Linked DNA regions of Homo sapiens: regions 2, 3, 4, 5, 6 and 7 are each linked to region 1. Evidence: promoter capture Hi-C in 16 types of primary human blood cells and fetal thymus (Javierre and others, 2016). All regions are on one chromosome and are shown on one strand. Each heading gives the region's core, a stretch centred on a gene start or on the middle of the fragment in contact. The rest is flanking DNA. Distances are from core to core; before and after follow the strand shown. Region 1 holds the start of BASP1 (brain abundant membrane attached signal protein 1). Region 2 has its middle 360 kb from the start of LINC02223. Region 3 has its middle 330 kb from the start of LINC02223. Region 4 has its middle 310 kb from the start of LINC02223. Region 5 has its middle 290 kb from the start of LINC02223. Region 6 has its middle 250 kb from the start of LINC02223. Region 7 has its middle 240 kb from the start of LINC02223.

Region 1 (4,259 bases), core at 1,273-3,772:
TTTCTCCATCATGAAAATTTAGCTGGAAGCACTGAAGGTACTGAACATTAATTTTTATGTTGTCTTTTTTTTTTGGAAAAATTGGAAAAAGAGAATAGAGAAGGAAGATAACACCCACAGGCTTAGACTGCAAATACAATGAGGAAATGTATTTGCTAATTTTTAGATGATTTACATGCCTGGAAGATCACAAGGATAAAAACCCTGAATGCTAAATGAACAAGTAGGCAGCTCCTCTAACAAACTCAGGAAATGTCTTGAGCAGAACATTGCAAATATTCATCTAATTCGATAGGGTAAAAACCTAGAGACTTGCTCATAGAGGTTGAAAGAAAATGTAGCTCAGTGGTTTTCAGCCTGGAGTGATTTTGCCTCCCAGGAGACATTTGGCGATATCTGGGGACATTTTTGGTTGTCACAACTGGTGCTGGTGCTGGTGGTGTGTGTGGAGGGTGGTACTGGCTGCTAGTAGAGGCCAGCAATGAATGCCAGACATCCTACAGTGCATAGGACAGCCTTCCACAACAAAGAAATATCTGGCCCCAAAAGGAGGTGGGAAAACCTGCATCCTCCATTTAGCTTTATAGATGGTGTACTGGTGTGAGGGAAATAAATATTCAAAAGAATAAAATGCTTTAGAAGCAACCTCATTTGTAATTTGCTTCCCTGGTATTTTACTACACTAACTTTTTATTTCACTTTAAATGGCAGAAAGAGAAACAGGAAAAAACAAACAGTTCCCGCTTTTTTCTTACCTTTGGTTTAAATTTGAACATTTCCAGCTGGCATGCATTAATCTAATTTGGTGCTGCCTCCTATGACCTGTAAATGTGTACAGTAGGGTCGTCAAGTGTTTCCACTGCAAAATCGCTAGTGCAGTTGAGTAAATATTGCCACTTTGCTTAATTCAAATATGTACGTTAAAGTTACGATAAGTTAATTTTCCTGTTAAGTGAAAATGCACTTACCTTTACCCAGTTGAATACAGATGTACTTGCCTTTGACGTCTGCCTCCCTAAGTATGGTTACAGTTTGTCACTCCGGTTCTGGAGGGCCACCCTGTCCCTGAATTCACGCCCAGGTCCTGAGGGCAGAACCATCCTGAGGACAACCTGCAGCTCCATCGATTTTTTCTTGGCTGGGACGCAGGCGAGCATGAAAGCGATCCAAACACAGCCAGAGGGCGCCAAAATGCCGCAAATAAAAGTTCCAAAGGCGTCAACTGGCTTTTGCGGGAAGGTAAAATTGGCTTTTGTGTAATCAAAGAGCTACCGTTGTCAACGATGTCACGTTACGTTATTTTTGTATGTCCCTCTTGCCAACAGGTAAGCAAAGTGAACGCATCTTCCTACCCCGGTGGCTATTCTGTGTCCCGGTGCTAAACCAAGTGTCCGCCCCCTTAGGGCACCCGGACAAGCCGCGGTTGGCCCTAGCTTTGACTCGAGCGCTCGCAAGCAGCAGCGTGCGGGCTGCCTCGGCCAACCCCGTCTTCTCAATATTGGTGGCCTCCATTAAAGCACAGACATCAAAAACATCGACGGCCCCTTTCCCCTCTTCTCTTCCCTCCTTCCTCTCCCAAGTTCCGAGAGCATCCTCCGAGGGGCGACGTCTCTCGCCCCACCAGCTGGACCTCGGCGACCGCGCCTCCCCCGAAGCTGCAGCCTTCGGGGCTGAGCCCCGCGGGTGCGGGTGCAGGTGCGGAGCCGCCCAAGGTGCGCAACTCGTTTGCAGCGGCGCAGCCCAGACGCGCCTGCAGCTGGGGCTCACCCCAACCTCGCTGCCAGCCGAGGTAGCGGAATCGTAGTCGACGTCGGGAGCGGGCTGGACTGGGGTCTGAGAAGGGTAGCTGGTGCCAGGGGGTGTCATTCATCACCTCGAGGCAGCTCCCTAAGTCTGAGCGAGAGCCCGAGCACTTCTTATCCAACGGTTCCAAATAAATGAGGGGGAGAGAGAGAGAGAGAGTGAGAGAGAGAGAGAGAGAGAGAGAGTGAGTGAGAGAGTGAGAGAGTGGGAGAAGTCCACGGACAGCCCAGGCGGCGCGGCGGGGGAAGGGGGACGCAGGAATGGAGGAGAGGAGAGGGGAGGCGGAGGGGGGATCTGAATAGAGGGCATTTAGGAAACGTTGGCGGGGCACAGAGTTGGGAGGTGGGGGGAAGGGAGGAACCAGGATGGCGGATAGGAGAGAAATGGGGGTGACTGTGCTGGAGGGGAGGGGAGGTGGGGGCCCAGAGCTGGGGGGAGTCAAGGGGAGGCGGGCGTGTCCAGGCTGGAGGGGAGAGGGGAGGGTCTGCGCCGGAGGAGGGGAGGGGAGCAGAGGGAGTGCAGGGGGTGGGGAGATGGAGCTGGAGGGGGTGGAGGGGAGACGGGCGGGGCGCCGGGCTGGAGGGAGGGGAGAGAGGCGGGCGGGGAGCGCGGGAGGAGGGAGGCTGGGCGGGCGGACGCGCGGGGGGAGGGCACTGGGCAGGAAGGGGAGGGGGAGCGAGCGCGAGAAATGCAGAGGCTGCAGCGGCGGCGGCGGCGGCAGTAGCGGCAGCGGCGACGACGGCGGCGGCAGCGCTCCAACTGGCTCCTCGCTCCGGGCTCCGCCGTCGAGCCGGGAGAGAGCCTCCGCCAGCGGCCAGGCACCAGCCAGACGACGCCAGCGACCCCGGCCTCTCGGCGGCACCGCGCTAACTCAGGGGCTGCATAGGCACCCAGAGCCGGTAAGGAGGCGCGCCCGGTGGCCCCGCGCCGCCGCGGACCCGGGGGCCTCCGTCCCCCACCGCGCCGCGCCCCGCCCCGCAGCCCCCGGGCTCTCCCTTCATGCAGCGGGCAGCAGGGATGTGGGCCCGGATTGGACGGCAAGGGCCTGGGGTCCCTCTGTGAGGGCTCCGTCGCACTTCGGGGATCCCGGGTGATGGGGGGCCCAGAAGTGGGAGGCTTCAGCCGCTCGCATGGTGGAGGGGTGAGGGGGGCGGCGAGGTTGGTAAACGGAGCTGGGGGGAGGGGGCTGTCGGGGAGAGGAGCTGCGGGTGACGGGAGGAATTGCCGAATGCGAAACCCCCTCAGTGCGTTGAGTCCCGGGGAGACGGTTCTGTGGGCTGAAGGGAGCGCTTCCGTCATCGGAGCCCTTACCAGCCTGGGAGAAAGCGCTCGGGGCGAGGGGCGCAGCAGCCAAAGATGGAGGGTGGGGGTGGGGTGGGGCGGGAGTCCGGGGAGAAAGAAGATGGGGAATCTGGCCCGATCAGAAGGAAGTGGGTGGCTTTTTGCTTTGGCAAACGGGTTTTCTCGACCCATGGGACTCCTGGATCTTGGTTCTGGGGCCAAGGAATACGAGGTTCACACGGCGACGTGCACTCAGAAGCACCTCCCGAGCAGATCGGAGCCCCAGCCTCGTCAGTGGCGGAATTGCCTTCCTACGAACCCGTGGGCTGCCTCGGAGCAGTTTGTTTTTTCGAGCCTTTGGTTCCAAGAATGCGCCAGGCGCCTCCGCCCTGGGTCCCGGCCCCGGCCCGGGCCCGGGGGGTGTGGGCTTGAACCTGACAGCGCGCGGCCCTAACTGGGCTCAGCCCCGCTGGGAGCGTAGGGTTGGGGTTGAGCAGCTTTTGCCCAAAGCGCTAAAGCTGAAACCCGGCGCCCGGTTCCTGCTCCCCCCGCCCCCGTCCCCCCTCCATTTCCAGAAAAATAAAAATTGCGGAATCCTGGATCCGATCGCACGCACAATGCGCGGCTGCAAACCGCATTCTTTTCATGAATATTCATCGAACGCTTGGCCAGGCTCCTTATCTGCGTCCCCAGAGACATTTCCGCCTTGAAACGAACTCGGTGGACAGCCCTTGCCCATGTAATTCTCACTCTGCTGAAATTAGCACAGCACACATGGGTGCATTTTTTAGGACCTTGTACAGGTTGACAACACCTCTGTCTCCCCCGCGGCCACTCGCACTGTGGGGCGGGCTAAAACCCAACACTAGCGTCGAAATGGCCTTCTGCTATAGGGTTGTGGACCGACCCCCCACCCCCACCTCCCGGGATTACAGCCCGGGCCAACAGACCCCCAGTATACTGCAGGCAAAATGAATGAATCGGGACTGTAATTACCTATTCCTTTGTCTTGGCCTCGCGCATGCGCCGGAGAGCAGGGTGTGGAGGGCCCGGCAGCCCCATCCCATCTCCATCATCCAGCCACCCACTCCCCTCCCGAGCCGAGGAACAAAGGCGTTTGCCCTAAATGTTGCGGGAAACCCTTGGACACCAATGACAGTTTTTCCCGCCTGTGT
Region 2 (4,259 bases), core at 782-3,281, 950 kb after region 1:
AAGTTGCTTTCAGATGTCTTTTTTTCAGTTGAATGCATCCTTTATTAATTTTTGTAGAATAGGTCTATGTGAAATAAATTCTTTCTGCTTTTGTTTTTCTTGGAATGTCCTAACTACCCTTTATTAAGATAGATTTGCAGTTTATAGATTCTAGTTTAACAAACTTTTTCTTTTAGCTCTTCAGATGTGTTGTCTCACTGTCTTCTGGATTCCATAGTTGCTGATAAAAATCAACTGTTAGTGTTAATGAGGACTCTGAATGCATGATGAGTATCTTTTCTTTTGCTGCTTTGAAGCTTTGTCTTTGGTTCCCAACAGTTTGACTATGATGTGTCTAGGTTTGAATTTCTGAGTTTCTCCTACCTGATGCTTATTAAGCTTCTAAGATGTTGAGATTAATGTATTTCATCAAGTTGGAGAAGTTTTCATCATTATTGCTTTACGTATTCTTTTTGCCAATTTTATTTTGTTTTATCCATAATGAGAATCCCATTATGCATATATTCATATGCATAATGTTTTTTCACAGGTCTCTGAGGTTTTGTCCATTTTTCTTCTTCTATTTCTTATATTGAATAATTTCACTTGATCTAAGTTTGCTAATTCTTTCTACTGCCACTTTGAATGTGTTGTTAAACATGCTTCAGTTTTTGTTATTTTCAGATTTTTTATTTGAGCTTTTGTACATTTGAGCCCCAGAATATTTATTTTTAAAAGTAATTTCTATTTATTGATATTTTCTATTTGATGAGACATTGTTCTTATACTTTTCTTTAATTCTTTAGTCATGATAACATTTAGTTCTTTGAACATATTTACAACAGCTGATTTAAACTCCTTGTCTAGTAAGTCTAACATCTGTATTTCTTATAGACTGTTTCCATTGACTTTTTTTCTGTGTATGGGCCATACATATCTGTTTCTTTAAGTGTCATAATTTCTTATTTTGAACTGTATATTTTACATAATATAATGTGTCAACTCTGGAAATAAGATATCTCTCTCCCCAAAGCTTACTTTTGCTGCTTGTTTAATAACTTTCTGGGACACATGCTGTAAAATCTATATTCTTTGTTTTGTGCAGCTACTGAATTTTATGATTGGTTATCTTAGCTTACAGAAATTTTCTTACGTCCTTTGAACAAATATGTCTACCATTCTATTCTGAAGTCCTTTGTGTGTTACGGAATGCTTTAAAAACTACATTGGGACAGTTTATATCTCTACTTTATCTTTCTCTTCTTTCTTACACAGCACAGCAAGGTTATTCAAAAGTAAAACATTTTGGCTTTCCCAGATCTTTCTTGGGTATGCCAGAGTATCGCACATGTGTGTGGCATTCTAGACTCCCAGGCATATATTAGTGGCATTCAAAGTCTGCTGTAGACAGATTATTTATGTTTTTAGTTACTCTAACTTTTTTGGTAAGCCTCTTGTTACCAACAATTGGTAATGCCACCTCAGGCAACCACCATGTTAAATAACAATTGCTGATTGGTTTCGGCAAACAGCCTAGGGATATTGTTGTACATGCAAAACAAGCTCCAATTAGGGTCAAAAAAAGATAAGACTTGAGAAATGAAGTTTTCAGAAATCTTCTGAAAGGCAAATAATAATAATTTTATGAAGATGAAGCTCTTTGTGATACAGAAGTTGTCCCTTTCAGCACCTGATAGGCTGCTGATTTTCAGAGCTACAATAGTTATGAAGCTATAGGGATACCACATAGCTCCAGAAAGAGGAATCAGACTAGGGCGAGTTAATGCTACAAAGCTAACTGTTCTTATTAAGATTTAGGTGGTTTTTTTGTTTGTTTTTCATAAGTATTCTTTCTAAGTATCATGCCCACAACCTGGGTGAGAGGATCTGCACGCAAAAATTCAGCATAACTGACATGGTTTGGCTTTGTGCCCTCACTCAACTCTCATCTTACATTGTAATCCCATAATCCCCACATGTTGTGGGAGAGACCTGGTGAGAGGTAATTGAATCATGGGGGCAGTTTCCCCCTATACTGTTCTCATGATAGTGGGCGAATTCTCATGAAATCTGATGGTTTTATAAGGGGCTTCCCCCTTCACTCATCACTGATTCTCTCTCCTGCCACTCTGTGAAGAGGTGCCTTCTGCCATGATTATAAGTTTCCTGATACCTCCCCAGCCATGCTGAACTGTGAGTCAACTAACCTCTTTCCTTTATAAATTACCCAGTCTTGGGTGTGTCTTTATTAGCAGCATGAGAATGGACTAATACAATAACACACTATACCCATGTAACAAAACTACACATGTACCCTCATATCTAAAATAAAAGTTGGGATGATGGGGAGCAAGATGGCTGAATGGAAGTCTATACTGATCATCCACCCCAAAGGAAGACCAAATTGAACACTCATCAACCCAAAAAGCACCTTCATGAGAACCAAAAATCAGCTTGGGTACCAGCTTGGCCACAGTGGGGGAGAGCACCAAGGAGGTTTTTAGGGTCCCCAATTCAAGGCCTTTGCTCTTAGATGACATTTCTGTACCTGACCAGGGCCAGATGGGAGCCCAATTACCCAGAGGGAGACTCTTAGGCCTCCTGACATTTACTGCAAACTGACTGAAGAGCTTTTGGTCCTTCAGTGAACATCAGCAGTAGCCAAGCAGTAATTGCTGTGGACCTGGGGTTGTGGTGGCCATGAGGAGAGACTCCTCTGATTGTGGAAAGGGGAAGAAAGAGTGGGAAGGACTTTGTCTATGGCATGGGTGCCAGCTCAGCCACAGTAGAATAGAGCACCAGGTAGATTCCTAAGGTTTCTGACTCTAGGCCCTAGCTCACATATGGGGACAGGGGTATCTTTCCTGAAGGGAAAGACACAAGCCTGGCTGGTTTTGCCATCTGCTAATTATAGAGCACTAGGGCTCTGAGCAAACATAGGCGATAGCCAGGCAGTGCCTACTGCAGGCCTTGCATGAGAACCAGTGCTGTGCTTGCTTCAGGTCTGACCCAGCAGAGTTATAGTGATAGTGGCCTCAGGGGTGCTTGTGTCACCACTCTCCCAGCTCCAGGAAGCTTAGCACAGAGAGCAAAATTCTGTTTTCTCAGGAGAAACTGAAAGAAAAGAACAAGAGTCTTCATCTGGTAATCTAGAGAATTCTCCCAGATCTTATTCAAAACCACCAAAGTGGTAACTCTATGAATCTAAAAGAACCACAACATTATTGGGCTCAGAGTCCCCCCTAATGCAGATATGTCTGTAGTGACCAAAACTTAAATCATAACACCTAAGTCGCTTCAAATACTTGGAAAGTCTTCCCAAAAAGGATGTGTACAAATAAGCCTAAACTGCAAAGACAATAAATGCCTAACTCTTCAATGCCCAGGCACCAAGAAACATCCACAAGCATTAAGACCATTCAGGAAAACTTGACCTCACCAAACAAACCAAATAAGGAACCAGTGAACAATGCTGGAGAGACATAGACATGCGACCTTTCAGACTGAATTCAAAATGGAAACTCAACGAAATTCAAGATAACACAGAGAAGGAATTTAGAAGCATATTCGATACATTTAATAAAAATATTGAAATAATTAAAAGGAATCAAGCAGGAATTCTGGAAGTAAAATATGCAACTGACATACTAAAGAAGGCAGTTCTTACCAGCAGAATCTATGAGGAGCTTAAAGAAATAATCAAGTAGAAAGCAAATAACCCTAATAAAAAAGTAGGGAAAAGACATGAACAGACACTTCTCAAAATAAGACATACAAGCAGCCAACAAACATAGAAAAAGCTCCACATAACTTATCATAAAAGAGATACATCAAAACCACAATGAGATATCATTTCACACCAGTCAAAATAACTATTATTAATAAATCAAAGAACAACAGATGTTGGTGAGACTATAGAGAAAAGGAAATACTTATACATTGTTGGTGGGAACATAAATTAGTTCAGATATTGTGGAAAGCAGTTTGGAGATTTCTCAAAGATCTTAGAACTCATTCAGCCCAACAATCCTATTACTGCTTACTTATCAAAAGAAAACAAATTGTTCTACCAAAAAGACACATGGACTCATATTTTCATTGTAGCACTATTCATAATAGCAAAGAAATAGAATCAACCTAGGTGCCCATCAATGGTGGATTGGATAGAGAAAATGTGGCACATAGACACCATGGAATACTACACAGCCATAAAGGAGAATGAAATTATGTCCTTTGCAGCAACGTGGATGCAGCTGAAGGTCATTACTCCAAGTGAATTA
Region 3 (4,259 bases), core at 1,144-3,643, 920 kb after region 1:
AACTATTTTAAATCTATTGGCACAAAAAAATTAACATATTGACATAAAATTTATTTTTTGCTTATAGTGCTTCATAGTAAATTTTCCCATTTTATTTGTATACCATATTAAGTCACCTCCTCACCTTATGGAGTTTTCTTGTGTCTGCACGGTTTTTTACACATTTTTAGATAGCTTAATATTAATTATGATACATATAGCACAAGCTAAAACCATTTCTTCAAATTATTAATCGAGGTTGCAATAAAAAGTTTAATCAGAAGATTTCAGGTGAGACATAAAGGCAGAAATGTAAGAATACAATTCTTCTTTCTTCTCTATTCAATTATCTCCCTTGGATTAAGTAAAAGGAATGAATAACTTTGGCTTCTCTCAGACAGAGGTAGTGAATAAAATCATTAGGCAGTAGTTTAAAAGAACTGTTATTTTAAAAACATTAGATATTCAGAAAGTCTTCCAATTTAGTTTGGTTTTTCTTTTTGTAACAAAAAATTGTTAGTAATTAAGAAGAGTGCTTTAGTTGAACTCAAGCTCTATAGATCTTACAGAAAGAGAACATAGTCACAATTATTTTATACAGCTATTATACCTCAGAGACCAAAAGCTGACAAATACGGCCTTCATTAGTCATCACTTGTGAGCAATTCTGCCTAATACAAGTTCAAAAACTTTGCATAAAGTTTTGCAAGTAAGCTTCATAATTACCAAGAAAACTTATTTTTTGTGTGGTGCAAATTATTTAATATTAAGGAAACTGCTAATGAAATTTATTATAAATATTATAAAATAAAATAATGAAATCATTTTAATAGAAGATTAAAATATATTTTATAAAATTCAATAACAATTTTTAAGTAAAATAAAACATTTCTGACATAAATTTTCAAAATATTGTCATCAGTAAGATAAAATTGATGAAAGAATTTATTAAAGAAATAGGATAATTCCTATTAAAGTAAAACAATCCCAGGGGTCCTAGTGTCACTACTGTTAATTAACTGTGTTCAGACAGTGCTAGCCAATAAATTCACAAACACAACAATCTAACAGGCAGTAGCAAGAATATCATCAATCCTAAAATACATAATTTTCTATCTACAGAACACAGGAAAATGAATTCAAGAATTGTTTTAATGATTATAGATTACAATGAAGTAGTGAGTAAAAATCAAAGATTCCAATCAAAAATCTTCTTTTTAGATTAAGAGCCACATAGATAATAGATTGGAAAAAAACTTATTCACCATATGAATAAAAACGTAACATTGAATAAACTTACGGAGTATGTGAAAAAATATACATACACACAATTTTCTATGCACACACACACACACATTCCCATAATTATTTGGAAACTTTAAAAAAGGATTTGAATACATGGTAAATGGTGACACGTCAGTTCATGTATTGGAAGACTTAATGTTGTAAAGATGTAAATTATAATCAAATTTCTACATGTTTAACACTAGTCTAAGAAACATTTAGTTACAGGCTTTCATGAAAAAAAGATCATATACATGTCATCCTAAAATTAATCTGCCAGCCTGAATGTGTGAGATGAGCCATTAAGTAGTTTGAAAATGAAAGGGAAAAAATAAGGGTAAAGTCACCTAATCTACTTAAAAGTCATGTTTTAAATAATTAATTAAAAACTATTGTGGTGATATGAAAATTTATTAGTCTGTTCTCATGTTGCTAATAAAGACATAGCTGAGGCCAGGTAATTTATAAAGGAAAGAGGTTTAATTGTCTCACAGTTCCACATGGCTGGGGAGACTTCACAATCATGACAGAAGGGAAAAGAGGAGCAAAGTCATGTCTTACATGGCAGCAGGCAAGAGAGCATGTGCAGGGAACTACCTTTTATAGAATCATCAGATATCATGAGACTTATTCATTGTCGGGAGAATAGCACGGGATAGACCCGCCGCCATGATTCAATTACCTCCCACTGTATCGCTCCCACAACACAAAAGAATTATGGGAGCTACAATACAAGATGAGATTTGGGTGGGATACAGCCAAACCATATCATTCCACCCTTGGTCCCTCCCAAATATCATGTCCTCACATTTCAAACCAATCATGCCTTCTCAACAGTCCCCCAAAGTCTTAACTCATTTCAGCATTAACTCAAAGTCCACAGTCCAAAGTCTCATCTGAGACAAGGCAAGTCCCTTCTGCCTATGAGCCTGTAAAATCAAAAGTTACTTCACAGATACAATGGGGATACAGTCATTGGGTAAATATACCAGCTCCAAATGGGAGAAATTGGACAAAATGAAGGAGCTAGAGGCCCTATGCAAATCTAAAATCCAATAGGGCTGTCATTAAACCTTAAAGTTCCAAAATAATCTCCTGTGATTCCATGTCTCATATCCAGGTCATGCTGATGCAACAGGTGGGCTCCCACAGCCTTGGGCATCTCCTCTCCTGTGGCTTTGCAGAGTACAGTCCCCCTCCTGGCTGCCTTCACAGGCTGACGTTGAGTGTCTGCTGCTCTTCCTGGTGCAGAGCACAAGCTGTCAGTGGATCCATTATTCTGGGGTCTGGAACATGGTTGCTCTCTTCTCACAGCTCCACTAGGCAGTGTCCAAGTGAGGACTCTGTGTGAGTGCTCTAACTCCACACCCCTGCAGCAAACTTCTGCCTGGACATCCAGGCATTTCCATACATCCTCTGAAATCTAGGGGAAGGTTCCCAAACCTCAATTCTTGACTCCTGTGCACCTGCAGGCTTGTGGAAGTGGCCAAGGCATTGGGCTTGCACCCTCTGAAGCCAAGGCCCAAGCTATACCTTGGTCCCTTTTAGCCACATTTAGAGCGGCTGGGTTGCAGGGCACCAAGTCCCAGGTTGCATGGAGCAGGGGGGGTGGTGGTCCCAGCTCACAAAACCATTTTTTCCTCCTAGGCCTCCAGTCTTTTGATGAGAGAGACTGCTGGAAAGATCTCTGACATGCCCTGGAGACATTTTTCCCATTGTCTTGGTGACTAATGTTTACCTCCTCATTACTTATGCAAATTTCTGCAGCAGGCTTGAATTTCTCCTCAGAAAATGAGTTTTTCTTGTATATCACATCATCAGCCTGCAAATTTTCTAAACATTTATGCTCTGCTTCCCTTTTAAACATAAGGTTCAATTGCAAACCATATCTTTGTGAATACATAAAACTGAATGCTTTTGACAGCACCTGAATCACATCTTGAACACTTTGCTTCTTAGAAATTTCTTCCACCAGATGCCCTAAATCATCTCTCAAGCACAAAAATCCACAAATCTCTAGGGCAGGGGCAAAATACCACCAGTCTCTTTGCTAAAACACAGCAAGAGTCTCCCTTATTTCAGTTCCAAACAAGGCACTTGCAAAGAAAAAAATATTGACCATCCTATCTATTATTAAATACAGGGTTTCCTGTTATTTTGTCTCAGCTTTGCTTTTGCCCTTCATAGCACTGACTACAGATTGCAATGACTTTATTTATTTGTCTGTTTTCCCTTCTCTCTTCTTTCTATGACAGCTTTTTTCTTTGTTTTCCTTCTTTCACTGTCTCTGTCGCAGTTTCTGCAAACCAGATAATGCATTCTTTTTATTCACTGTGTTTGGAACTAATAGTTCAGTGTCTAGTATACAGTAGGAAATTAATCCTTATTTTTTGAATGAATGGTGGATGGAAGAATAATAGGATGAATATGTGAATAAAGTAAAAATGGAAGGCCATGAAAAGACTGGATAAAAGAGAATAAAGGAGATGAATTGGGGTTTGAGACAAGTCTAGTTATAAGAGAAAATTCAATATGAAATTCTCATTACTGAAAGAATAAAAAAGCCACACTTTTTTCCCCAAGGAAACTAATTAATTTAATGTAGAAATTTGGCAGCTTAAGGAACTCATCAAATTGAAAACAGAATCATGCAACAGTGTCTACTTCAAATCACCTGGATAAGTGGCAGAATAAGATTATGGTAGTAATTTTTGGATTAAAAAAGCTATAATGTAATTCATTGCTTCATTCTTATTGGTAACTATTTCCTCTGAAAATCTAGTATCTTTAAAAGAATAGCCAAAGCTAAAACCAAGTACCTTCCAAAACACAAGCTTTCTATACTTTGTGTTAAATACAATTAAGTAATTATACTGATTTTTACATGTACAAATTTTGTTGAATTTTAAAATTGATTCTTGTAATTTATATTTTTAATATAAGTGATACTATTTTCTGTGAATAATAATTCTTTGATTCTCTAAACCACATTTTAA
Region 4 (4,259 bases), core at 1,064-3,563, 900 kb after region 1:
CAGTAAGTGAGATTTTTATTTCTTTGATAGATAGTCAGACATTTTATTTTTATCCCTTACTTCAGCTTTGTTTATTCATAAAGCAGGTCTAGTCAACAATTCCCCAATTACATTGCCACTAGATATATAGAAGTGGGTATTGTTTCTAACTCCATGAATTAATACTCCCAAAATTTTGATTTCTATTGAAATATTATAGATTTTCTCCTTTTTGATGGGTTTATTGCTCTCAGTAATGAATGTTCAAGTCTCTAGAGGAAGTGATTAAACTGTTGTCTTGGGAATTCTCCTGCACTTGGTGTATCTTACATTAGCATATATGGCAGTGCAGCAAACATAAGTGATTATGTAACTATCCTATCCCACCCATCACAGCCAACGTCTGATTCATAATAACCTTTGAATTTTTTTTTGTTAAGTGAATTGGTTAAATGACTAGGTGAATGAATGTAAGAACAATCTTCACACTTTACTGAAATTAGTAGGTGGAATTTATTCTGCACATCATTTAGGTGACGGCATTAATGTAATATTCTAAATAGCTGGTATAGGAAGTATGGCTTTGAGATGAGTTTAGCACTAATGATGTTGGGCAATCTTTCCACCACCTTTAGGTCACTTGAAAATTATTTTGTATACAAAGCATCCAAGATGTGTGTGTGTGTGTGTGTGTGTGTGTGTGTGTTTGTGAGTAAAGTTCTTGCTTTTCTTGATGATTGGAGGCCAATTATAAATTCCTTATAGGTTAAATGTATCAAACATTCTCCCCTAACTATATGAGTATACACACACACACACACACACACACACTTGCATGTATGTATGCATGTGTGTTATGTGAGTGTGTATATATTCATACACAAACACACACATATACATAGGCTGGACTAATGGAAAATTATTGCCTATTTTATTCCTATGTTAAATGCAGAATCCCAACTGATACAAAGAATTCTGTTGCTATAAATATGATTTAGAAATACACAGAAGTATTCCCTTAAAAGCTGTACTTATACAGAATATTTAAGAATGTAGTTTAATATGTCACCACCTACTGAAATAGAGACAACCTCCATCACTCTTTTTCCTCTTACAAACCTATTTTTCTCACTTTCCACTGCCTTGCACTGAAGAATATATATGTATTTAGAAGCAGCAGCGTTAGGAGGCTCCCCATCGAAAAAAAACCATAATAAGCATGTCAAGCTTTCAGCAGCAACCAAGGTATCGAGGTTCTCTCATCAAAATTGACTAGAAGGCTGGCATGATCCATGGAGAGAAGGAAGAACAGTGTGGTGCAGAGGGCCCAACTGAGAGCCACACAGGAAAGGGAACACCCTCCTCCAGCCAAGGGAGGCAGTGAGTGAGCGTGCCACCCAGCAGGAGAAACTGCGCTTTTGCTGTGGAACTGTGTGACCCACAGATTGGAAGATCCCGCTCGCGAACCCACACCACCGGCGCCTAGTGTCCCAACCCCAGAACGTGCAGATTCTTATAGCCTCTCAGCTGGAATCTGCTTAAGCCTACCAAACTCCTAGGGGGAGGGGAGATCAGCAGGCCCTGTGGCTGCCTGCTGTCTAAGCCATGGGACTCACAACTGCCTAACATGCTAAGCTCCCTGGGTGGGGGAAGGGTGGCACGCATTTCTATAGCTCCATGCTGTGCTTTTTCTCTGCTGGAGCCAAGGAGGCTGTAAGTCTTGGTCCCAAGACTTGTCTCCATAGCCCAACACACCCGCTGTGGTAATCTGTGGCCAAAGTGCCTCTTCAGGCCTAACTCTGACCCATCCTTCCTCAGTGGGCGGGGCTTCCTGGCAGGATCTCCAGTAACTCCAGCTAGAGGTTCAGGGACAGAATTAGGATTTTCCTGGGCCTGAGCCCCTAGTGGGAGGGGTGGCTGCACTCTTTGGGGACCAGCAGACTTAACCTCTCCTCCTGGTAGTTCTGAGGAATCCAGGCAGCCCACATGAGTGAGTTTCTCCCCAGCAAAATACACCCTTTCCACCAAGGGACAAAGTGCTTCGTAAAATGGGTTCTGCTCCCTGTTCAACCCAACTGGGTGAGACCCTCCAACAGGGATTGTCAGACACCCTATACAGGAGCAATCCTACTAGCATCAGGTTGGTGCCCCTCGAGGTCAGGGGTCCCGGAAGAAGAAGCAGGCACCCGCCTTTGTTGCTCTCCAGCCTCCTTGAGTGACATCTCCAGGCACAGAAGCAAATCAAATGAACAGGCCTGAAGTGAACCCCCAGCAAACTGCAGCAGCCCTGTAGAAGAGAGACCAGACTATTGAAAGAAACAAGCAGAAAGTGACAACAACAACAACAACAACAAAAAGGCCCTCACAAAAACCCCATCCAAGGGTCAGCAGCCTCAAAGACCAAAACTAGAAAAACTCATGAAGGTGAGAAAGAATCAATGAAAAAATGTGGAAAACCCAAAAGGTCAGAGTGCCTCTTGTCCTCCAAATGATAGCAAGGTCTCTCCATCAAGTTCACAGAACTAGATGGAGGATCAGATGACGAATTCACAGAAGTAGGCTTCCGAAGATGGATAATAACCAACTACGATGAGCTAAAGGAGTGTGTTCTAACCCAATGCAAAGAAGCTAAGAACCATGAAAAAAGGTTATAGGGGCTGCTAACTAGAATCACCAGTCTACAGAGGAACATAAACTACCTGATGGAGCTGAAAAACCCAGCACGAGAACTTCATGAAGCATACACAAGTATCAATGGCTGAATAGACCAAGTGGAAGAAACGATATCAGAGTTTGAAGACCATCTTACCGAAATAAGACATGCAAACAAGAATAGAGAAGAAAGAATGAAAAGGAATGAACAAAGTCTGCAAGGAATATGGGACTTCATAAAAAGACCAAACCTAACGATCGATTGGAGTACAATCCTCAATAAAATACTGGCAAATTGAATCCAGCAGCACATCAAAAAAACTTAACCACCATGATCAAGTTGGCTTCATCCCTTGGATGCAAGGCTAGTTCAACATATGCAAATCAATAAATGTAATCCATCACATAAACAGAACCAAAGACAAAAAAAACACATGATTATCTCAATAGATGCAGAAAAGGCCTTCGATAAAATTCATATCCCTTCATGTTAAAAGAGAACTTCCCTAACCTAGCAGAGGCCAGCATGCAAATTCAGAGAAAACCAGTAAGATACTGCACAAGAAGGTCAACCCCAAGGCACAAAATCATCAGATTCTCCTAGGTTGAAATGAAGAAAAAACTGTTAAGGGCAGCCAGAAAGAAAGGCCAGGTCACTTACAAAGGAAAGCCATCAGACTTACAGTGGACCTCTCAGCAGAAACTCTATAAGCTGGAGGAGATTGGGGGCCAATATTCAACATTCTTAAAGAAAAGAATTTTCAACCCGGAATTTCGTATCCTGCCAAACTAAGCTTCATAAGCAAAGAGAAATAAAACCTTTTCAGATGAGCAAATGCTGAGGGATTTCATTACCACCAAGCTTGCCCTGCAAGAGATCCTGAAAGAAGCACTGAATATGGAAAGGAAAAACTGGTACCAGCCACTGCAAAAACACACCAAAATATAAAGACCAATGACATTACGAAGAAACTGCATTAAAATCCAATGATAATAAATAGCATCATGATGACAGGATCAAACTCTGTCTGAACTGAAGTGTATATGGGCTAAATGCCCCAATTAAAAGACACATACTGGCAAATTGGATAAGGCGTCAAGACCCATTGGTGTGCTGTATCCAGGAGACTCATCTTACATGCAAAGACAGATACAGGCTCAAAATAAAGGGATTGAGGAAATTTTACCAAGCAAATGGGAAGCAAAAAAAGCAGGGGTTGCAATCCTAGTCTCTGATAAAGCAGACTTTAAACCAACAAAGATCAAAAGAGACAAAGAAGGCCGTTACATAATGGTAAAGGGATCAATTCAACAAGAAGAGCTAACTATCCTAAATATATATGCACCCAATACAGGAGCACCCAGATTCATAAAGCAAGTCCTTTAGAGACCTACAAAGAGACTTAGACTCCCACACAATAATAATGGGAGATTTTTAACACCCCACTGTCAACATTAGACAGATCAACAAGACAGAAAGTTAACAAGGATATCCAGGACTTGAATTCAGCTCTCCACCAAGCAGACTTAATGGACATCTACAGAACTCTCCACCCCGAATCAACAGAATATACGTTCTTCTCAGCACGACATCACACTTATTCCAAAACTGACCACGTACTTGGAAG
Region 5 (4,259 bases), core at 969-3,468, 880 kb after region 1:
TCCTTCCCAACTTAATCTCAGGCTCAAATTCCTTCTGCTCCACTAAAATGCCATCCTCACTAAGTTCACACCTGGACCCTTTTTCCTTCAGATACATTAAACTCTTCAAGACTTCAGGGCCTTGCCCTTGCCATTCTATCTGTCAAAAGCATCTCTCCAGCATTCTTTTAAATCACTGAGTTATTTAGCATTAGGAAAAGATTTTTGTAAAATAGCAGTGATAAAGTTAATTCTCTTCCATCTGTTGTCAAATATCCCCATGGCTCTCTCCTTCTCTTAGTTCAGATCTTTAATCAAAAGTCCCTTTCACTGAGGCTTTCCTTGACCACTCTCTGATGTGCTTCTTCCTTGCTTTTCTGCCCTTTAGGACTTGGTGATCATTTTACTTGCTATATTGGTAATTGCTTGTACTCCTAAGCAAAATAGAATTTTCTTACTATATTTTAAGGATATAGTATAGTTTTACTGTGTTATAAGGATATAATATAGTCTTACTATATGATAAGTATAGTAAGTCTTACTATAAGTTCTTACTATATTTAAGTAAGTATATTATTACTATATTACAGTCCTTACTATATTACAGGGATATAATATAGTCCTTACTATATTACAGGGATATAATATGGTCCTTACTATATTACAGGGATATAATATGGTCCTTACTATATTACAGGGATATAATATAGTCCTTACTATATTACAGGGATATAATATAGTCCTTACTATATTACAGGGATATAATATAGTCCTTACTATATTACAGGGATATAATATAGTCCTTACTATATTACAGGGATATAATATAGTCCTTACTATATTACAGGGATATAATATAGTCCTTACTATATTACAGGGATATAATATAGTCCTTACTATATTACAGGGATATAATATAGTCCTTACTATATTACAGGGATATAATGTCATCCTTACTATATTATAAATATATAATATACTCTTATAGTAAGTCTTATTATAAGTTTGTACTACAAGTAAATATATTATTACTATATTACAGTTCTTAGTATACTGTAAGCATAAAACACAAATCTTGTTCCTTTTGCTCACTGCTCTATCCAGACACTGACTAGACAATGCTTGGCCCATAATGACATTTGATAAATACCTGATGATTGCATAGTTACAAGTTTGCACCATCTTTTCCTAGATTTATAAATGTTTTCTGAATAGAGAGGTTTTCTATTCGCTGAAATCCGTGTGGGACTCAATCGGAAGTTTGCTGGGCATTGATCACTCTGTTCACTATTGAACATGAGTAAAATCTTAGCATTTAATATAATAAATGACATAAAGCGGCTGAACATATATCTTTATTCCAAAACTAGACTTCTAGAAATAGATTGTGTTCCTTAAAACTAAATAAAAGTTTCTATTTAGTTCTGGATACGATGATAGTTAAAAATAATACATTGACTTAGAATAAAGTCACTCAGGAAAGTTTTGTGAATATAGAACATTTTCTGCATTGATGATTATGAGGAAGCTATGGTAATTGTTATTAAAACAAAATATTCGTTGCTGCAGTGGTCAGCACCTTACTGGGTCATCTTTTGGAGTTCTTTGGCTCAACTTACGTGAAACCTACTCTAGTAAATTTAAAGGAAAAGGTAAATACATTGGAAGGCTGGAGAGGAGCTGGTAGAATTTTTAAAAATCCTGAAAGCCAGACCTCAGAAAGGATGGGTACAGAAGAAGCAGCGGGGATTTTCACAGCAGGAACTGGGCTCCAAGCAACATCTAACTGTGTCACTTTGATGGAGAAACAGACTGGATCAAGGCTCACCTCTACACCCTGGGGGCAGTGCGTCTCATCAGGCCTGCCGGATAATGTCCTGGAATTAGGAAGCAGCTAGTACAATGAAGGAAAACGGAGGAATATACTAACACAGGACGTGGGCAGTGTGGCAAGCCAGCCAAAACAAAAGAGTCCACTCTACCCTTTAATTAAACAGGTTGAGGTAGGTACCTAATGGCAAAGAATCACTGAAGAGAGGGATAAAATATCAACTCATGTAATTGTTATTCTACCTAAAAAGCAGATTTTTTTAAAAATTGTTTTTGTTTTCATTTGATTTGATTTATATTTAGATGTCTGATAATTTTCAGAGATCATGTGCACAGAAAAATGTCTGTGCATATCATCACAGCCTGAGATACGTCTTGCAGCCAACTCAGACAAACGATTTGCGAATACAACCTTGCAACATTCCTGAGCTTTTCTTTGTTAGGCTATTATTACAAAATTTCCAAGAGAAAAAATGGTCTCTACTTGTTTTTCCTGAGATGTAGGTGTATAAAAGAAGTAAAATACAAGACCTGTTTTTGTGAATAGGTAGGTGAGAAAACCATTAAAATTCAAATGAAAATAAGTCTTCGTTATGATCATGTCAGATTTGGAAAACTTTGGCAATTTGAGCGACATTTCCAACGTTAATTTTCACATTTTGAATAAAAGCAGTAATTACCCTACCTGCATGTGTCATGTACAAGGTATTGCCCTCATGTTTCTGTATTTTTTTTTTTTGGTGCATGTATGGCCACAGGAAGAGAGAGTTTTTCTCATAGCAATAAAAAATCAAGTGAAACCGTTTCTGTATTTATGGTGTTTCCTCCCACTGTCTACAGTTTATTTATGTGAATGTCTATGAAATGGTTTCCTTGGTAACTAAAAGGAGCCTGGGTCTGATCAACTGTATCACAGGCTCACAGTTTTAGGCATCCGTTGCTTACAAAAACTAACTACTCAATAACAAAATGTAAAAAATCAATACCAATTATTTATTGAATTGATATCTTTCTAGGGTTTTTCCATTTGGCTATTTTAGGATCCTACTCTATGCTAGATTTCCATGTAAACAGTTACAATTCAGGAGAAATTTACATTTATTATAGATACTGTTTTAGGAAGTTATACTAGTGAGGCCCTACCCCTTTCCAAATCCATTTGCTATTAATTGCCAAATGCTTTGGCTCTCATCTGAGTAACAACTAGCACTCAAATATTTAATGACTCAAAATCACAGAAAAAATAAGACTTGATGTGCCTCCATATATCACACCACCACAGCAGGGGTTAAAATAAATGCCAGAGGTGATGAAAAAATGACTGTTTTTCATAGAATCATGCGTGTTGTAAACAGCAGCTGGTTATCATTGTTTATTATGAAACAGTAGCAAAATGTCTTTATTCTGATTTCTAGCTTCTCTATGTTGCCTTCTTTCATATTGAAATTTTAGATACCTCTTGCTGAGTTCATTTGTATTCAGCTGTCGTTTCTCTCCTTCACTCAGCCATTCTCTTGACTATCCAAGACTTTTGTCACACTATGTCATCTGAAGTATTTGGTATTAATGAAATTTTATATGCAATGCTATCACTTCAGAAATAAACCTCATGCCACACTTTTGAGATTATAAAAATGTAGACTCATACTGAAGCTAACTCAGGATGAACAGAGGTTAGTGGGTGGAACCTGGTAATTTCATAATTAGATTTAACCTTTCTGGTGCCTTAGCAATCATTTTAATAATGACATTACTTTTCCTGTCCAATCACGTAACATTTCTGTGCTATTCGGGAAACTGCTTTGTTATGTAGTGAGCAATAAGACTGTCAAGTTTCATATCCTCCTGTTTTTCCTGAACAGATTCTCTAAAATATTAGAATAAATTTGACTCTGTTTCTCTTGCCAGAAACACAGGAATGAGAGCTTCTCTGGTGTTTCTATTACATCATCAATTTCTCCCTCCACTCTCATCCCTTTTCATGCCACAGAATCATTATTGGCATGCCTGTCAAAATTACTAAATCACTCTTTCCTATTCTCTTCCTTTACCACAAAATCCAATGTTTAAATCATAAACACTGCTTCCCTTCTGTAGCATGCATTGCTCACATTATCTGCACTACTTTAGAGATTAATCATCAGAAATTAAAAGATGGAATAAAGCCTCACTCAAATTAACACTCTTCCTCACTCTGGGTCTCTCATTTTATTTCTAATCTGATATGTCGAAATTATGCTTTATACTGACAAGAATGTTCTCTCACCTTGCAAATACTTCCCCAGACTTGAAATCTTGTTCAAGAAGGTAGCTTTTGATTTACTTCCCAAATAATGTCTTTTGGTTTAGTGTATATAAAAGAAGATTCCTTTTCCTTGATTCTGAAGATCCAAATGTTGAGGCAGATTTTTGTCTACTTTGAGTTAGCTGAGGCTTATTGGTTACATATT
Region 6 (4,259 bases), core at 605-3,104, 840 kb after region 1:
GACACTGTAAGTAGTATGTACTTTTTAGATGAATTCTATGAATGAGCTTGTCTATTCCTATAGCTTCACCTACCACAATCATAGTGATGACTCTTAGATTTGTGTATTTAAGTTGGATCTCTCTCCTGAACTTCAAATCCTCCTACCAAATGCTTTTGGACTATTCCATTTGAAATTCTAGAAAGGAAGGAAAGAATTCACAGTGGGTGTGTAACTCCTTTCATCTCTAGGTGCAAGAGGTAGTGACAATATTGACTATTTGCTCTTGTAGAAATGTTCACCGTCAACATTGCTTATTGTTAAAACACTTGGGCAGGGTGCGGTGGTTCACACCTGTAATCCTAGGACTATGGGAGGCCGAGGCAGGCAGATCACCTGAGGTTGGGAGTTCGAGACCAGCCTGAGCAACATGGAGAAACCCCATCTCTACTAAAAATACAAAATTAGCCAGGCATGGTGGCACATGCCTGTAATCCCAGCTACTTGGGAGGCCGAGGCAGGAGAATCACTTGAACCCGGGAGGCGGAGGTTGTGGTGAGCCGAGATAGTGTCATTGCACTCCAGCCTGGGCAACAAGAGTGAAACTCTGTCAAACAAACAAACAAACAACAACAAAACAAAAAAAAAATACTTAGAACTTATGAGATATAGCTAATTTGTCAATGGAAGTTACTTATGCAGTATATTCACTCATGAATGACCAAAGCAAAATTTCTTTTATAACATTTTGTTTTGCTTTGGTCGTTCATGAGTGAATGTTATAAAAGAAAATTGTGTCCCCCCAAAAATTTATATGTTGAAGACATAACCCCTACTCTGAGTGTGTTTGGAGATAAGGCCTTTAAAGAGGGAATTAAGGTTAAATGAAGTTGTCTATGTTGACGCCCTGATCAAATGTGACTGGTGTTTTGTTTTTTTTTTCAATTATACTGTAAGTTTTAGGGTACATGTGCACAACGTGCAGTTTCTCCATGTTAGTTACATGTGTATACATGTGCCATGTTGGTGTGCTGCACCCAGTAACTCGTCATTTAATATTAGGTATGTCTCCTAATGCTATCCCTCCCCCCTCCCCCCACCCCACAACAGGCCCCGGTGTGTGATGTTCCCCTTCCTGTGTCCATGTGTTCTCATTGTTCAATTCCCACCTATGAGTGAGAACATGTGGTGTTTGGTTTTTTGTCCTTGCGATGGTTTGCTGAGAATGATGGTTTCCAGCTTCATCCATGTCCCTACAAAGGACATGAACTCATCATTTTTTATGGCTGCATAGTATTCCATGGTGTATATGTGCCACATTTTCTTAATCCAGTCTATCATTGTTGGACATTTGGGTTGGTTCCAAGTCTTTGCTATTGTGAATAGTGCCGCAGTAAACATATGTGTGCATGTGTCTTTGTAGCAGCATGATTTATAATCCTTTGGGTATATACCCAGTAATGGGATGGCTGGGTCAAATGGTATTTCTAGTTCTAGATCCCTGAGGAATCGCCACACTGTCTTCCACAATGGTTGAACTCGTTTACAGTCCCACCAACAGTGTAAAAGTTCCTATTTCTCCACATCCTCTCCAGCACCTGTTGTTTCCAGACTTTTTAATGATCACCATTCTGACTGGTGTGAGATGGTATCTCATTGTGGTTTTGATTTGCATTTCTCTGATGGCCAGTGATGATGGGCATTTTTCCATGTGTCTTTTGGCTGCATAAATGTCTTCTTTTGAGAAGTGTCTGTTCATATCCTTCGCCTACTTGTTGATGGCGTTGTTTTTTTTTTTCTTGCAAATTTGTTGGAGTTCATTGTAGATTCTGGATATTAGCCCTTTGTCAGATGAGTAGATTGCAAAAATTTTCTCCCATTCTGTAGGTTGCCTGTTCACTGTGATGGTAGTTTCTTTTGCTGTGCAGAAGCTCTTTAGTTTAATTAGATCCCATTTGTCAATTTTGCCTTTTGTTGCCATTGCTTTTGGTGTTTTAGACATGAAATCCTTGCCTATGCCTATGTCCTGAATGGTAATGCCTAGGTTTTCTTCTAGGGTTTTTATGGTTTTAGGTCTAACATTTAAGTCTTTAATCCATCTCAAATTAATTTTTGTATAAGGTGTAAGGAAGGGATCCAGTTTCAGCTTTCTACATATGGCTAGCCAGTTTTCCCAGCACCGCAGTTATTCCAAAATTGACCACATAGTTGGAAGTAAAGCTCTCCTCAGCAAATGTAAAAGAATAGACATTATAACAAACTGTCTCTCAGACCACAGTGCAATCAAACTAGAACTCAGGATTAAGAAACTCACTCAAAACCGCTCAACTACATGGGAATTGAACAACCTGCTCCTGAATGACTGCCGGGTACATAACGAAATGAAGGCAGAAATAAAGTTCTTTGAAACCAACAAGAACAAAGACACAACATACCAGAATCTCTGGGACACATTCAAAGCAGTGTGTAGAGGGAAATTTATAGCACTAAATGCCCACAAGAGAAAGCAGGAGAGATCTGAAATGGACACCCTAACATCACAATTAAAAGAACTAGAGAAGCAAGAGCAAACACATTCAAAAGCTAGCAGAAGGCAAGAAATAACTAAGATCAGAGCAGAACTGAAGGAAATAGAGTCACAAAAAACCCTTCAAAAAAATCAATGAGTCCAGGAGCTGACTGGTGTTTTTATAAGAAGAGGAAGAGACCTCAGGCTTGTGCACATGCAGAAGAAAGGCCATGTGAAAACACAGCAGGAAGGCAGCCATCTACAAGCTAAGCAGAGAGGCCTCAGGAGAAGCCAAACCTTCAAATACCTTGACCTTGAACTTCCAGACTCCACAAACTTGAGAAAATAAATTACTGTTGTTTAAGCCTTCAGTCTGTGGCACTTTGTTATGGCAGCCCTAGAAAACTAGTAACTAAGAAACCCTGAACCCAAGCAATGTTCTCTGGACCAGCATGGATCTCATGGACATACTGTCAGTGCCCTTCTGTTACTCCAATACCAATGCATGCCCATGAAAGAGAATGGCATTAGGGACCTGTGTCTGACAGGCCCTGGGATCCTTCAAAGACGAATATTGCATTTGTGCCTGGGTTTGCTTATACCCATTGTGAATCATTAGTAAAATTTAGTGTTTGATAGTGTCTACGATTCCTAGGAATCTGCCTTAACAAGTCAACCCTTTGTTGTATTTCAAGATGTGTCTTACAAGCATTTAAAAGTTAACATATTTAAAACTGAAACCATCATTTCAGACCTGCAAACATACATCTCAATAAATAGCTCTGTGTCACTTTCTGGGGCTGCTGTAAAGAAGTTGGCACCTGGGCTGTAATAAACTGGGTGGCTTAAACAGAAATTTATGCTTACAGTTCTGGATCCTAGAAGTACTAAATTAAGCTGTAAACAGGGTGTTAGTCTCTAAAGACTCTAGTGTAAAATCAGTTCCATACCTCTCTCTCAGCTTCCAGTGCTGCTGGCAATCCTTGGTCTTCTTTGACTTGTAGATACATCACTACAATTTCTACCTATATTGTCGCATAGTGTTCTTCCTATCATTATGTCTCTTCTTTTCTCCTAAGAACACCAGTCATAAGGGATTAAGCACCCAGTCTACTCCAATATAACCTCATGTTAAATTGACTATAGCTGCAAAATCCCTACTTTCAAATAAGGTAAACATTTCTCAGGTTGCCTTACATTCACAAGTACCAGGGATTAGAATTTGAATCTATTTTGGGGGGAGGACACAGTTCAAGACATAATCCTTAAAAATCCTGTTACTTCTGTTTCTTAATTTTTCTTTAAAGAAGAAGGGGAACATAAAGAGTAAATTATTCATCAATTTACCCACTCATACAACAGGTATTTATTCTGCATCTAGTTTATGTTGGGCACTGTTTAAGGCCCTGATGAGAAAGCTGTGATCAAGACAGATCAGGCCTTTGGTCTTTCCAAGCTAATATCCTAACTGTAACATCTACAATGAACGTATAGACAGGAGGATTTTTGATAGTGGTAAGTGCTGTGAAAATATAGACCAGGTAAAGGATATAGAATTACTCCATAGGCAGGAGTAAGACAAGGATGTTCTTGATTAGATAAGGAAAGTGGGGAAGACTTCATTGACAAAGGAATATTGAAACTAATCTTAATGGAGAACGTTCTGGTGAAGGGCCATTCTAGGTAAAAGGAAGAGGAGATAAAGATCTTAAAATTAAATATGTGTCTGGTAATGTATAAAATGAAATCTCCTGTGACTAAAGCTTAGTGG
Region 7 (4,259 bases), core at 738-3,237, 830 kb after region 1:
ACACTGACTTCCACAATGGTTGAACTCGTTTACAGTCCCACCAACAGTGTAAAAGTGTTCCTATTTCTCCACATCCTCTCCAGCACCTGTTGTTCCCTGACTTTTTAATGATCGCCATTCTAACTGGTATGAGATGGTATCTCATTGTGGTTTTGATTTGCATTTCTCTGATAGCCAGTGATGGTGAGCATTTTTTCATGTGTTTTTTGGCTGCATAAATGTCTTCTTTTGAGAAGTGTCTGTTCATGTCCTTCGCCCACTTTTTGATGGGGTTGTTTGTTTTTTTCTTGTAAATTTGTTTGAGGTCAGTGTAGATTCTGGATATTAGCCCTTTGTCAGATGAGTAGGTTGCGAAAATTTTCTCCCATTTTGTAGGTTGCCCGTTCACTCTGATGGTAGTTTCTTTTGCTGTGCAGAAGCTCTTTAGTTTAATTAGATCCCGTTTGTCAATTTTGGCTTCTGTTGCCATTGCTTTTGGTGTTTTAGACATGAAGTCCTTGCCCATGCATAGGCTTTTGTTTTTTAAATGCGTATGTTAAATTGCAAGATTGATAAGCCTCATTATAAAAAGGTCAAAATATATTACATTTTATGTTGTAAAATATGAGATTTTTCTCTATGCCCCACCTCTAATAATACTTCTTTCTCTTCGGGTCAGTAGAGTTCACAATGTAGAGTGCATTTTGGCGCACTCAGCTAGACACAGCATGAGCACACACAGGCACACAGTGATACTTGCATAATATGCTCAGACATGTTTTTTAAAACATAGAGATAAGTTTCTCTCTACATACATGCACACACACAAATAAGTATTTCTGTGCTACAATTTTTTTCACTTAATAACGTACAAAATTTCAAATAAGCTACACCCAGGTAAACTTAGTTGGATTAATTAACTCCCAATTAATACTGGTCAGTTTCAGCAACAGAAAGCTTCTAAATTCTAAGCACAGGGTTCTTTTGGAGAATGTGCATATCTTTGAAGTGCAAAAGTAAGAGAGACACAGAAAATCTAATGCTGTACTGGAAGGTCCTAAACAGTGTGTAGGTTAAGAAAAATATATTACAAGGATCCTGATTGTAAAATAAGAATTAAAATAATCTATTCATAGGTGATATGATCATCTATGTAGAACATTCTATGAAATTTGTAAACATGCTACTAGAACTAAACAGTGAGTTTAGCAAGATCATAGAATACAAGATTGACATATAAAAAACTATATAATAGCAACAAATAATCAGAAATTGAAAATTAAAATACCATTTATAATAGCACAAATAATATTATATACATAGTGGCACATCTAACAAAAGATGTGTCAGACCTGTATACTGAAAACTAGAAAACACTACCTACAGAAATAAATATAATGCAAATAAATTGTTAGCTATATCCTGGTCCTGGATCAAAAAACTCAATACTGTTAAGATATCAGTTCTCCCCAAAATAATCTATAAATTCAACACAATTCCTATCAAAATTCTCAATTTTTTAGTAGGAATTGATGAACTGATCCTAAAATTTGTATGACAATGAATAAATACTATTGGAAAAGAGGAGCAAATTTGGAAGGCTTTTATACTATCTAATTTTAAGATTTTTAAAAAATCTATGGTAATCAGCAGTATAATATTGAAAGACTAATCAAGGTACAAGAATGGAGGATCCAGAAGTAGATTTATACACAATATGGTCAATGAATTTTTGACAGAGACAGAAGCAATTCAGTGGAGAAAGAATGGTCTTGTCAACAAATGGTGCTGGATCATACCCACACCTTGTCTCTTATGCCAAAATTTAACTCAAAATGGATCAAAGACTTGAATGTAAATCTTAACACTACAGAAGTTACAGAAGAAAACATGGGAGTGTATCCTAACTGCCTAGTTTTGTGAATAAAGATGTACTGGAACACAGTTGTGACTCTTTGTTTACGTATTGCCTTTTGCAATGAAATGGCAGAGCTGAAAAACAGAGACTGTGTGATCCACAGAGCCTAAAATATTTACTCACAGGAACTTTTCTGAAGTTTGCTGACCCCTGCTTAGATTATAAGGAATAGAAAACCCAGTGAAAGCTGGCTTCTTCTCTCGTATAAACAGACATCCAAGAGGAAGATGGCTTTGGGGTTGTCTTAATGCTTCAGTGCTGAATTCTATGGGCCAACTTTATCTTCAGTCAAATAAGATGGCTGCAAGATTTCAAGGCTTCACAGCACAGACGGTAATATCCAGAGGGAGGATAAAGAAGTTGTTCCTTCCTGTGGTTTTGTCTTTAGTTTATGAAACCCTTCCTCAGCTAACCTCCTGCTCCCTGATCCAGTGACAGTCTTCTTCTTGAATTACTCTCCTTTTCATGAACTCTTTGCCATAAGGCTTAGACCTGTGTTCCTGAATCAACCACAAACAGGGAATGGAATTACCCTCTGATTACTCAGGGCCATCTTGTGGTTGGGGATTGTTAGGAAGCAAGGTGAAGTGATTTAGTGATGCCCTATGTGTTTTCTCCTGTGACCCCAGAAAGCACTGTTTGTTTAGGATTTATATAATTAAATTTCTTGATCTCTTCCCTTCCCTTCTCTTTCCCCTCCCCTCCCCTCCTTCTTCATTTTTTTTCTTTTTTTTTGAGATTCCATCGCTAAAAATCCTTGTAATGTTTCATCTTTGTAAATATTCTTAGCCATTGACTGGAGATAAACACCTTTATAATAAAAATAAAACATATTTCTACCTAGAGTATTAAAAAAATCTTTAATAGAAATGTATTTTCAAATTTCAAATGCCTTTTATTATATATCTAAATATTATTTAAAAATTTTAAATCTAGAGGTGTAATGAGTTATATAGATAGATTTTCTAATATCACTTATTTTTTTCATTTCTGGAATATATCCTTTCTGATTATGGGCTATATCTTTCAACATATTCAGGTTATATTTTATCTAGAAGTTTTTCATCTCTATTTGTAAGGTTTAAATCTATATTTGGGAGTTTCATTGGGTTTTGACCTTCATCAAATAAACTCTGATATCAAAGCTTCATAAAATGGTTTTGAAACATTTTTTTCTTTTTCTATATTGAAATGCTATCAACAGAAGTGGAATATTCTGTTCCAAAATGGTTTGATATGACTGATTCTTAAAACCATCACTCAGGAACATTTTTAAATTACCTCGATTTATTGGCAAGATAGCATTTGTTTTTCTACTCAATCAACTTTTTATAATTTTTATATTATAATATTCTAAAATTCTTATTCTGTAGAGCTTGATTTTTCTCTTGTTAAGTATATGTTAGTATATGAACTCGATAACACATACATAAATTAATTATTGTATTAAAAATAACTGTAAAACAACATAAAATAGTTTTTTTTTCCTTTTAGAGACTAGACAAATTACATGTGTTTTATAAATACCCAACCAGAACTGTACACACACACACAATGAGCAAAATTAAAATTAGGTCTTAAAAGTTTCATAGTCAACATGCGTCAGTTGTACAATAGAGAGACGAGCATGGAGATCAGATTTCATCTCAATATGCAGTTTTATAAATATCTGTTTTGGCTCATATGATATTGTAGTCATATTAAGTTTCCTCCTCATTTTAGTGACCTTGATATAGAAATATATATACACATTTAAATATCAAATCACCTCTTAGGCATGCATGATCACATTCTAATGCTATAGATAAGACCCACTGGTCATTACTTTGCTTCCTAAAAATTTTTCTAGACTGGCAGTTAGCTGCCTAATAGATGATTCCAGGAAAGAACAAAGCCAGTCTAATTATTCAAGAAGTTACTTTTGTACCAGAACTGTTGTAGGTGGACTGTAATTTTTTGTAGAAAGTTTAGGACTTAATTACCAGACATTCCTACTCAAAGATATTTGAAATCAGTTTTTCCCTAAATATCTTTTGATTGCAAAGCTATTTACTATTTAGAATCCTGAAATGTTGATATTTATAATAAAAAGAAAATTTAAATATAGAAATACCTTCAAGAATAACATACGACCACATTGCTTTTTTCTTGCAGATGAGCAGTTGCATTTTGTTAGATCTTAAAATTAAGATTGCAGTGTTTTTTCCCTGGAAACCAATATATCTGCTGCAAATGTGTATTACAATATTACAGTCATAAAATATAATAATTAAAATTGTGAGGTTTTTCTGGAATGGTGGCTTTTCCTCTGGTTAGTATTACTTGAAATAGCATAATCCCCTTTTAAACTATTAAAGTTTAG

What was found. Contacts are between HindIII fragments. The CHiCAGO score rates a contact against its expected background, and 5 or more counts as called.
Region 2: a contact is called between a fragment that was not itself captured here and the fragment with the promoter of BASP1 in region 1, in 2 of 17 cell types (M1 macrophages and M2 macrophages). The highest score is 5.6, in M1 macrophages.
Region 3: a contact is called between a fragment that was not itself captured here and the fragment with the promoter of BASP1 in region 1, in 2 of 17 cell types (M1 macrophages and M2 macrophages). The highest score is 7.9, in M1 macrophages.
Region 4: a contact is called between a fragment that was not itself captured here and the fragment with the promoter of BASP1 in region 1, in 5 of 17 cell types (megakaryocytes, M1 macrophages, M0 macrophages and 2 more). The highest score is 16.6, in megakaryocytes.
Region 5: a contact is called between a fragment that was not itself captured here and the fragment with the promoter of BASP1 in region 1, in 5 of 17 cell types (M2 macrophages, M1 macrophages, megakaryocytes and 2 more). The highest score is 12.5, in M2 macrophages.
Region 6: a fragment that was not itself captured here is called in contact with the fragment with the promoter of BASP1 in region 1 in 1 of 17 cell types (M2 macrophages); the score reaches 5.0 in M2 macrophages.
Region 7: a contact is called between a fragment that was not itself captured here and the fragment with the promoter of BASP1 in region 1, in 1 of 17 cell types (M2 macrophages). The highest score is 6.0, in M2 macrophages.

Annotation. Positions count from the first base shown.
Region 1 is chr5:17,215,109-17,219,367 of GRCh38, forward strand. It overlaps BASP1 (brain abundant membrane attached signal protein 1), which reads left to right and starts at 2,523. Exons shown (of 2, transcript NM_006317.5): 1 at 2,523-2,702. It overlaps BASP1-AS1 (BASP1 antisense RNA 1), which reads right to left and starts at 2,314. Exons shown (of 3, transcript NR_027253.1): 1 at 969-2,314. RefSeq lists silencers at 2,319-2,798, 3,289-3,608 and an enhancer at 3,643-4,259. The HindIII fragment of the contact is 5,505 bases long and covers 1-4,259 here.
Region 2 is chr5:18,167,351-18,171,609 of GRCh38, forward strand. No RefSeq gene overlaps it. Among named protein-coding and RNA genes, the nearest start is that of LINC02223, 360 kb to the left of the region's middle. The HindIII fragment of the contact is 2,042 bases long and covers 1,011-3,052 here.
Region 3 is chr5:18,135,792-18,140,050 of GRCh38, forward strand. No RefSeq gene overlaps it. Among named protein-coding and RNA genes, the nearest start is that of LINC02223, 330 kb to the left of the region's middle. The HindIII fragment of the contact is 3,404 bases long and covers 692-4,095 here.
Region 4 is chr5:18,117,837-18,122,095 of GRCh38, forward strand. No RefSeq gene overlaps it. Among named protein-coding and RNA genes, the nearest start is that of LINC02223, 310 kb to the left of the region's middle. The HindIII fragment of the contact is 2,219 bases long and covers 1,205-3,423 here.
Region 5 is chr5:18,096,213-18,100,471 of GRCh38, forward strand. No RefSeq gene overlaps it. Among named protein-coding and RNA genes, the nearest start is that of LINC02223, 290 kb to the left of the region's middle. The HindIII fragment of the contact is 5,338 bases long and covers 1-4,259 here.
Region 6 is chr5:18,059,959-18,064,217 of GRCh38, forward strand. No RefSeq gene overlaps it. Among named protein-coding and RNA genes, the nearest start is that of LINC02223, 250 kb to the left of the region's middle. The HindIII fragment of the contact is 4,790 bases long and covers 1-4,249 here.
Region 7 is chr5:18,041,120-18,045,378 of GRCh38, forward strand. No RefSeq gene overlaps it. Among named protein-coding and RNA genes, the nearest start is that of LINC02223, 240 kb to the left of the region's middle. The HindIII fragment of the contact is 2,106 bases long and covers 935-3,040 here.